Regions from separate parts of the Homo sapiens genome. Here region 1 is linked to region 2. The links are contacts of gene promoters, found by promoter capture Hi-C in blood cells and fetal thymus (Javierre and others, 2016). All regions are on one chromosome and are shown on one strand. The core of a region is centred on a gene start or on the middle of the fragment in contact, and the rest is flanking DNA. Distances in the headings are between cores, read along the strand shown.

Region 1 (4,805 bases), core at 1,603-4,102, 47 kb after region 2:
TACGAATTAAGGCAACAATACTGATTTCTAGGAATCAAATGTAAAAAGCATTATCTTTTCTTTAAAATCAAACTCATATAGCTAGTTATGTGTATTGTAACTATTCAATAAATAGTCACAGGGATGACAAAATTCAATGTAAGTTGATAATAGATCGCTCCATTAAATTCCTCTTTCGCCCAGGCTGGAATGCAGTGGTGTGACCTCGGCTCGCTGCAACCTCCACACACCACCCCCCCGCCGCCACAACCGTTTCCAGTGATTCTCCTGCCTCAGCCTCCTGAGTAGCTGGGACTACAGGCACCCACCACCACACCCAGCAAATATTTGTATTTTTAGACAAGACTGGGTTTCGCCAGGCTGATCTCAAACCCCTGACCTCAGGTGATCCGCCTGTCTTGGCCTCCCAAAGTGTTGGGATTACAGGCATAAGCCACAGCACCTGGCTGAAATTCCTATTTGAAACATAGCCTACCATCTAATGAAAAAGAATTACTAACTCCATACTAATATGAGACACTTTTTCTGTGGATTATGGTAGCAAGTAGTACTCATGTAAAAACACCTGGTCTTCTGGCTTTATTTGTAATTTTTTTTTTTAAGACAGGGCCTCACTCTGTCATCCAGGCTGGAATGTAGTGTTGCAATCATGGCTCACTGCAGCCTTGACCTCCTGAGCTCAAGTGATCCTCCCACCTCAGCCTCCCAAGTAGCTGGGACTATAAGCACACGTCAGCACACTCTGTTCATTTTTGTATTTTTTGTAGAGACGAGGTGTCACCATCTTGCCCAGGGTGGTCTCAAACTTCTGGGCTCAAGCGATCCAACTGCTTTGGCCTCCTAATGTGCTGGAATTACAGGCGTGAGCCACTGCACCCGGCCATCTCCTGGCTTTAAATATGGGAAGTGAAATATACATTTTGAAGGAATCTGTAGATGCTCCTGTACTTTCCCCAAGCCTGGATGACATGGATGGTTTCTTTCCAGTAGAAGACCAATAAAATACTCAGGGGTAAAGGACATAAGGCAGATGCCCCGGCACCAGAATGCCTGGTGTGCCTAAGACATCCACCTGCCCTGACTCATTTCACATGGAACAGCAGGACCGGGATGTAAATGAGAATCGCATAGTGCTTGGCTTGTAGCTCTCCTGAGGAACTTCCCATATTGGTTTCTCATCCATCACACCCTGAATGTGTGATGTTCCTTTATGCCTCTGAGTTTGTAGGTGCTGCACCTTCTTCCTAGAAACCCTGGCCACCCTTCATCTGCTGTGCAAATCCCTGGTCATCCTAAAGACTTATCTTAAACAACACCTCCTCCGTGAAGCCTCCCTAAAGTGTTCAGCTCATGCAAGCAGAATGAGGTGCTTTCTCTTCTGCTCCTCCAAGTTTCTTGATCATTCTATTATAGCACATGAATAACACCAAAATTATCTGTACACATGTCTTTCTCTGCACTAAACTGTAACTTTGTGAATGTGCACGTGGTAGACATCATGGTCAGGAAGCTGCAGGAATGAATGATTATATCTATTTATGTTGGTCCTTTTTCTCCAGTTCCTAATTATATGCCTCAAGAATATGGGTACAGGTTGTTCTTATTCATTTCCTACACCTTGCAAGTTATAACACATTGTCTTGTACATAGGCAAAAATAAAGACTTGAATGAATGAGATGTCATAGCAATAACCATATCTGCAAAACTGACAAAAGCTTATTTCAACTTCTCCTGTGCTATTTTAATCCAGAATCCATAGTATTTTTCACTCAAAAAGGAAAATACCAAAGTTCTCAAAATAGAAGGAAAGAATAAAGAAAATAATAATACTATAAAAGAAATAAAACAAAAGGAATAAATAGCAATCACTAAAGAATTTTCCAGATTTGTGTAAGGTAAGAGGAGACTAAGATCCAGACCACTGGTGGCTTTAAAAGTCACACACTCTGTGCTGACATACTAGAGGTGTCCAGATTTTCAGGACCTCAGGAACAATTTTGACACCCAGGCCTCTTGCCAGATTGAACTGTAGGTGGAGCCTCTTTATGTCATCTTTTCTCCACATCCTGGCTGTTTTTTTTCCCGCCCCTATTCCTCACATACAGAGCTGAGGGTATAAACTGGCAGCCCAACCCACAAACCTGTTTACTCACACAGTGGTTTTATGTTTTTAAATTAGCTGCCAATATGGAAAGAGTGGGGAAGTTCGCATAAACGTTCCCAACTTCAGATTCCCAACTTCCCTTAGAAAATCACATCTGGACAATCCTAGGGCCTCATTCCCATGTGGCAGTGATCAGCTGAGCTGAGTAACAGTGGTCCCCATTCAATGAGGATGGCCTCTCCAGGGCCATGGTTACCTGCTTCATCAATCCCCTTCACCCTCCTCACCCTCTTAGGCAGACGAGTACGCGCCTCCGGTGCACTGGAAACCTCAGGCAAACGCCCAGCGTGCAGGGCTAGGGTTGCATATTGACGCAGACTCCAGGCTCTCCAGGCTGCTGTTGACCGTCCTAGTCTTCCACCAGGCCCCATGGAAAACTTGTATAAGTCATTGCCCCTCTCTGGGACTCAGTTTCCTCATAAGCCAACTGCAGATACACAAAAGAGTTCATCATTTATTTATTAAAGTGCCAATAAATTCAAACTTTCTGAGTCTGCATCCAAATGTCTCACCTTGCCCATAAACTTTATGGCTGATGACGCCCCTAAAAATGTAGGTTTTTTAAAAAATGTAACCTTTTATTTGTCGCCGTGAGGTGGGGCTTATGCGGCGGCGTGGTGAAATAGATGCGGCGACCGAGGGGGATGTGGAGCTGGAGTTAGAGACTGAGACCCGTGGCCCAGAGCGGCCTCCCGAGAAGCCACGGAAACATGACTGACAGCAGTGCGGCGGACTTGGAGCGGGTCACCGACTATGCAGAGGAGAAGGAGATCAGAGTTCCAATCTGGAGACGGCCATGTCTGTGACTGGAGACAGAAGGTCCCGGGAGCAGAAAGCCAAACAGGAAGGGAAGAAAGAACTGGCAATAGGCAGTATCAAGAAGGAAGATCTGGAGCTGGTAATGACCGAGATGGAGATATCTCGAGCAGCAGCGGAAGGCGGCTTGCGGGAACACATGGGCAACGTGGTAGAGGCGCTTGTTGCTCTAACCAACTGATGTGTGCTTTCTCAGATATACCTACTGGATTAATTTATGGCGATAAAATTTCTTTGTCTTTAAAAAAAAGTAACCATTTTTAATGACACTGACCCGCGCCCCCAAAGCCATGAGGAGGTCACCAGTGATCTCCTAAGTACCTAATGATCCCTGTCTTTTCTCAGTTCTCACCTCTGAAAGCTACCAACATTCCATCCTTCTTGAAACCTTCTCCTTCACTGGCTTCCATCAATTTCTATTTTCTGGATGGCCTGCCCTTCTCTGACTACTCCTGTATTTTCTTCCTTTTTTCTTTACCAAATATAGAAATTCCCTAATGTTCAGTCCATCCTCCAACCTCTTTCCAATGGCTATTCTCTTTTTCAGGAAATGTACTCACTACCATGGCTTTAGTCACAGCCTCTCTGTGGGTAACTCCTCTCTCTTGAGCTCGAAACCACATTGTCAATGAACTCTTACCATTTCTTCCCTGCACCCCATCCTTTACTCGATATTGGCATGTCCAAAAATATTAGGCTGGTGCAAAAGTAATTGCAGTTTTTGCCATTAAAAGTAATTACCAGGAGAATCGCTTGAACCCAGGAGGTGGAGGTTGCAGTAAGCCAAGATTGGGCCATTGCACTCCAGCCTGGGCAACAGGGCGGGACTGCCTCAAAAAAAAAAAAAAAAAAATTTCCTTTGCACCAGCCTAATAAAATATCCAAATCCAAACCCAGTGGGGTGGATATCAACTGTTTCTGTCTGCCCTGCATTTCTGTTTTCACCGGAGATCTACAAAACTGTCAATCAAAATTTCCTACCTGGCCTAAATGGAGGGAACGCAAACCAAAGCTTCACCATCAGTGGTACCCCATCTTCCTGTCCGCAGTGATAGGGCCAAGGAGTAAGCACCTGCCCTAAGTGGGATTTGGCATATGGAGACGAGAGGGAGTCGTCTTAGATCATGAACTGTGAAGATGCTGCGGCTGTCTTCCCTGGCCACATGGAAGCTTCAGAAGGAAGGCACGGCACCCAAAGAAAAGCAAACCAGAGCCCCCGAGTGCCTAGGACCAGGAGCGTCCAAAGCCCGATGCAAGACCCTGGGTCTCACTATTAGAGCAGTAACCAATTCCATTTGTCCATAAGCTAGTTTGATTGCATTTTTGTCAGTCATCAAAAGAGCCCTCTTGGCCAGGCATAGCAGTTCACACTGGTAATCCCAGCATTTTGCGAGGCTGAGGCAGGAGGATCGCTTGACCCCAGGAGTTCGAGACCAACCTGAGCAACATAGTGAGACCTTGTCTCTACAAATAATTAAAAAATTAGCCAGGTGTGATGGTGTGTATCTGTAGTCCCAGCTGCTCAGGAAGCTGAGGCAGGAGGATTGCTTGAGCTTAGAAGGTCGAAGCTACAGTGAGCTATGATTGTGCCACTGCACTCCAGCCTAGGTGACACAGCAGTGCTCTGTCTCAAAAATTAAAAACAAATAAAAAAAGAGCCTTCTTTTATTACCTCATTCTCCCAGTGTATTAGTCCATTTTCATGCTGCCGATAAAGACATACCCAAGACTGGGAAGAAAAAGAGGTTTAATTGGATTTACAGTTCCACACGGCTGGGGAGGCCTCAGAATCATGGTGGGAGGCGAAAGGCACTTCTTACATGG
Region 2 (4,861 bases), core at 633-3,132:
CCCAGATGGGGACTTGCTGATGCGGCTGCATTCACAGCAATTAGAAGATAATCTGGTGTAAAAACTGTCCGGAGAGCGAGGGGCACAGAATCCCTGAGCTCAGGTTGAGCAGGGGAAGAGAAAGCCAGATCTCCATTCTGGAGGCAGAGTTTTCCACTTTTCCCTAAGGGGTCGTCTCAGCAGCCGGCCTCTCAGCTACAACGTGCGGAAATCTCACTGCCCGATGTGCTAATCACAGAATTGCACAGGTACTCCCTGAATCCAACTTGGGTTATTAAAACAACAATGAGGCTTAGGCATTTGGCTCAGTCCACCCCCAGGGTGACCAGCTGGTCACCTCACTCCGCAACCCAAATCCAGGGGATTCATTCGTTGTCTAGGAATAACTTCTTCCACCTTGGGAATTCTCTGATTTACTCTTACCTAGGTCCACTGGTCTTGACCAAAATGTGAGGTGTCCTTAACTTAAGGTTTTGACTTTTAAGAGGCAGTCGAGGAAATAATATTATGAGGTCTGTCTATTTCTTTAGTGGTCAAAGACAGATAAGTAAAAAGGCAAAGCTAGAGTCCGAATGTATGGCTGCAGGTTCAAGATTCCAGGCCAAGTTCTTGGAACTCCAGCACCTCTAGACTCACCAGCCCCACCAGCCCCTCTGGCCCCTCCAGCCCCACCAGCCCCACCAGCCCCACCAGCCCCTCCAGCCCCTCCAGCTCTGCTGCAGGAAATCCTGCCTCAGGGAATCATGATGCACCACCCAAGGAAGTATTTGCAGAAAAAAGAGATTCCATTATTGCCTTCCCTCAAGGGTGGTGTTGAGCCCATTAAGCTTTTCCCCAGCAGTACACAGAGTAATCTTAGGGATTCTGGTGGGAAAAATATCCCAAATTCTGCTTCCTTATGCTTCACCACATGACCCTAGGGCACACGCACTAATCAAGAACAGCCCAGGGCATCCTGTCACCCCCCACGGTGCACCTGCAAACTGGCTTTTACAGCAACCTTGTCTTCCAAATGGGTCCGTATCTTTCTAGGCATCTTTTGTAATGCTAACCTGTTTGGCATTACCCAGAAATGCTAACATTTCTACCACTTTAACTAATCTTAAGAGATTAAATCACACTCCATGATACTCCTGACAACAAATAGCATTTTAACCAGTAATTTACGATAAGAAGATTTTCAATCAGTGGGCTAAGCCCTTCCCTGGTGATTTAAGAAACTGCCAGCCTCGATGGAGATTCTTCCATCAATTCCTCATCATTATAAAAGAAACAATGGAGGAAAAACTCATCCAATTAAGTGACAATTCCAATGTGTAAATCTTGTAATATTTTTTGCATTTGTGATATGGGTTCTACACTAAAAATGCAACTTGTCTAATCTGAATGAGATGAAAAATCCTGAAAAAGGATGTTATCCTCAATATTTTGTTTGTGCCTCTTGATTTAGTAAACTCCCAACCACTTTTTCATCCTTCCCTGCCAAACCCCGCTACAAAATGTTTCTCATTATGACCTGAGACATTAATTCTGATTGTAGAGGTTTTAGATCATTTCTTCTAGGTGTTAATCAGTTCTGGCCATATGGTGAGGGTGAGGTAATCATTATTACTTTACAATGAATGCCCTTAATTACTTTTTCAGTAGTAATATTAGTCCTTCTGTTTATTTGAGTACCTAAGAGCTGCAGGCAACGTGATCTGAATTACATGGAGGACAAGCTCCAGCTGACTTTCCGTAAACTCGCATTAGGATTCTAATAGGAGACGACAGGAGCAGGTGGGGATAATGAGCTGGCGGAAGGGGCTGCCTATCACACTGCTCGGTGGCCCCTCTTTCACCCCCACTTTGCCTCAGGCATTTTCTACTCAGCTGTGACCTTACTTATGGTGATGCCAATCCAGTGGTCAGGAGCGAGGCGCCCAGCCTGTGTCTGAATCCTCCTACTGACCCTGGGGATCCGTGCGACTTGATCTTAGATATTGGTGGTGAAGCGCCGCTCTCCTTGACAGCATCCAGGAAAGGTAATTACCTTTGCCAAAATGCAAGTGGAAGTTCAAAGCCTCAGCCTTGAAGAGTGTCCCTGGAGACTTCCAGGCCCCCAATGTGAATGTGAAGCCCTCCTGCCCAGTGGGGCAAGGCGCCGGATTGACCTTCGCCTGAGTGGGAGGGCAGTCGCTGTTTGGGTCCACGTTAGGGGCGGTCCAGGTCAATTTAACTTGTCATATGCCACGGGAAGACATAAGGTAAGTTAATGATTCTAAGATGAATCAACTGCTCTTTGAGTCAGTCAGTATCTCTTGAGAATTCATTCACTCAATCCATGAATGTTTTTGACTCTCTACTATGTGTTATGGAACTGGGCTTAACGACATTGAAGTAAAGAGAGAGACAGAGATTAATTCACTGCCCCAAAGAAGGCCTGGAATCTTCTTAGGGAAAAGAATCCTCACAAAACACTCCACTGAGTATTCTTGTGTTTAGCCTGAGTCATGTTGATTTGAAAAATTCCAGCGTAAAAATTGTATATTTTCACACAGTGTGGTAGAAGGAATGCGCTTGTTCTCAGACTATGTTTTGCCCTGGAGATGGGTCCACAGGAAGCCTCTATCTTGGTCACCCTTTGGCACAAGCTTTGCACCTGTTCCCTTCTCCTTGCCTAGATTCTTGTCTCTTCTCTCGCTTTAAAGACCAGGAGTTGTTGTTGTTGTTTTAGAGATAGTATCTTGCTCTGTCACCCAGGCTGGAGTGCAGTGTCACAATCATAGCTCACTGCAGCATCAACCTCCTGGCTTCAAGTGATCCTCCCAGAGGAGCCTCCCGGGTGGCTAGGACTACAGCCATGTGCCATCAGGCTTAGCTAATTTTTTTATTTTTTGTAGAAATGGGGTCTTGCCATGTTGCCCAGGCTGGTCTTGAACTCCTGTCCTCAAACGATCCTCCCACTTCAACATCCCGAAGTGCCACCCATGCCCAGCAAGACCTGGATCCTTAACTCTTTGCCTGTCTTTGATCTTTGACACCTCCTGATCCCCAAGCCCCTGCCTCCCACTAGGCAGGCATTTTTGGTTAAAGTATGAGCTCCCACTTTGTATTTATCTCCAGCTTTGGGTGTTCAGTTTGATGGGAACCACAGGTGTCCCCACCTAGTTCTCCAGCCCTAATTTGTTTTCTCCCATGTTGCAGTTCCTGGCTTCTTCCCATTTGCCCACACCCTCATTGTGGCACAGTGCCCCAAACTGACACATGCCACAGGCTCAGAGTATCTTCTGATATGAAGAATGACTCTGGTCATTCGAGGGCAGAGAGGATTTCATGACCTTTCCCTGAGAACAGCAGCATGAACTGCAGGGTCAGCAAGGGGGTTGTGTCTGCCTGCTGCTAAGGTCAGATGCAGACAGCCCATGTCAGGGAAAGCCCATTTAGCATAAGAAGAGTAAAAAGAAGAAAATACCTCCTCAGCCAGGGGTACTTTGATGTGAACCAATACAATTAGTCTCTGAATGATGAATATAAATGATAATCAATGACGTATATGTGCTTAAAAGAAGGTGAGAAAAGATTATCACTGCCTAAACCTTCCTTTTAAAGGATGCCACAAGTGCATGGGTGGAGCATATAGGGTAGATAGGATTTTTTTTTTTTTTTTGAGATGGAGTCTAGCTCTGTCGCCCAGGCTGGAGTACAGTGGCGTGATCTTGGCTCACTACAACCTCTGCCTCCTGGGTTCAAGCGATTCTCCTGTCTCAGCCTCCCAAGTAGCTGGGATTACAGGTGCACGCCACCATGCCCAGCTAATTTTTGTATTTTTAGTAGAGACAGGGTTTCACCATGTTGGCCAGGCTGGTCTCAAACTCCTGATCTCAGGTGACCTGCCTGCCTCAACCTCCCAAAGTGCTGGGATTTCACGTGGAAGCCACTGTGCCCCAGCAGGGTAGATATGATTTAAATCTTTTTTTTATTATTGTTTTTTTGAGATGGAGTTTCACTCTTGTCACCCAGGCTGAAGTGCAATGGCACGATCTCAGCTCACTACAACGTCCACCTCCTGAGTTCTAATGATTCTCCTGCCTCACCCTCCCCAGTAGCTGGGATTACAGGCACCCACCACCACATCCTACTAATTTTTGTATTTTTAGTAGATACAGGGTTTCATCATGTTCACCAGGCTGGTCTTAAACTGCTGACCTCAAGTGATCCACCCACCTCACCTCCCAAAGTCCTGGGATTACAGGCATGAGCCAACATGCCTGGCCGACACGATTTAAATCTAATTAGATCACTGGAAGATACAGCAAAGTCTCAAAGTGGTTGTCTATGGATGGCACTATGAGTTACGTATTATTTTTCCAAAGCTCAGAATGTTCTGAATTTCTTTATTTTTGTTATTCATTTTGAGATGGAGTCTTGCTCTTGTTACCCAGGCTGGAGTGCAATGGCTCAATCTTGGCTCACTGCAACATCCGCCTCCTGGATTCAAGTAATTCTCCTGCCTTAGCCTCCCAAGTAGCGGGAATTACAGGCACCTGCCACCACTCCCAGCTAATTTTTTTGTATTTTTAGTAGAGTCGAGGTTTCACCATGTTGGCCAGGCTGGTCTCGAACTCCTGACCTCAAATCATCTGCTTGCCTCAGCCTCCCAAAGTGCTGGGATTACAGGTGTGAGCCACTGCAACTGGCCTGAATTTCTTTAAATAGAGAATCTCTATTGCCTTCATAATAACATGTTTTAAAGTTAGTTTTTATTTTAAATGTTAATTTGAAGTCAAAATGCTTTTCCTCTGACTGGGTGTTTAATGCATTTAGGAAAGGCTGAGCATGAAGCCAGGGTCGGGGGATACAGCCTGTTTGGAGGGGATTG

Evidence for each region. The method cuts DNA at HindIII sites, captures the fragments that hold promoters and counts their contacts. A CHiCAGO score of 5 or more calls a contact.
Region 1: a fragment that was not itself captured here is called in contact with the fragment with the promoter of C7orf33 in region 2 in 2 of 17 cell types (activated CD4 T cells and naive CD8 T cells); the score reaches 6.1 in activated CD4 T cells.

Annotation. Positions count from the first base shown.
Region 1 is chr7:148,634,431-148,639,235 of GRCh38, forward strand. It overlaps the pseudogene LOC643438. Among named protein-coding and RNA genes, the nearest start is that of C7orf33, 46 kb to the left of the region's middle. The HindIII fragment of the contact is 2,277 bases long and covers 1,715-3,991 here.
Region 2 is chr7:148,588,884-148,593,744 of GRCh38, forward strand. C7orf33 (chromosome 7 open reading frame 33) reads left to right here and starts at 1,883. Exons shown (of 3, transcript NM_145304.4): 1 at 1,883-2,246. The coding sequence starts at 2,043. The HindIII fragment of the contact is 1,806 bases long and covers 826-2,631 here.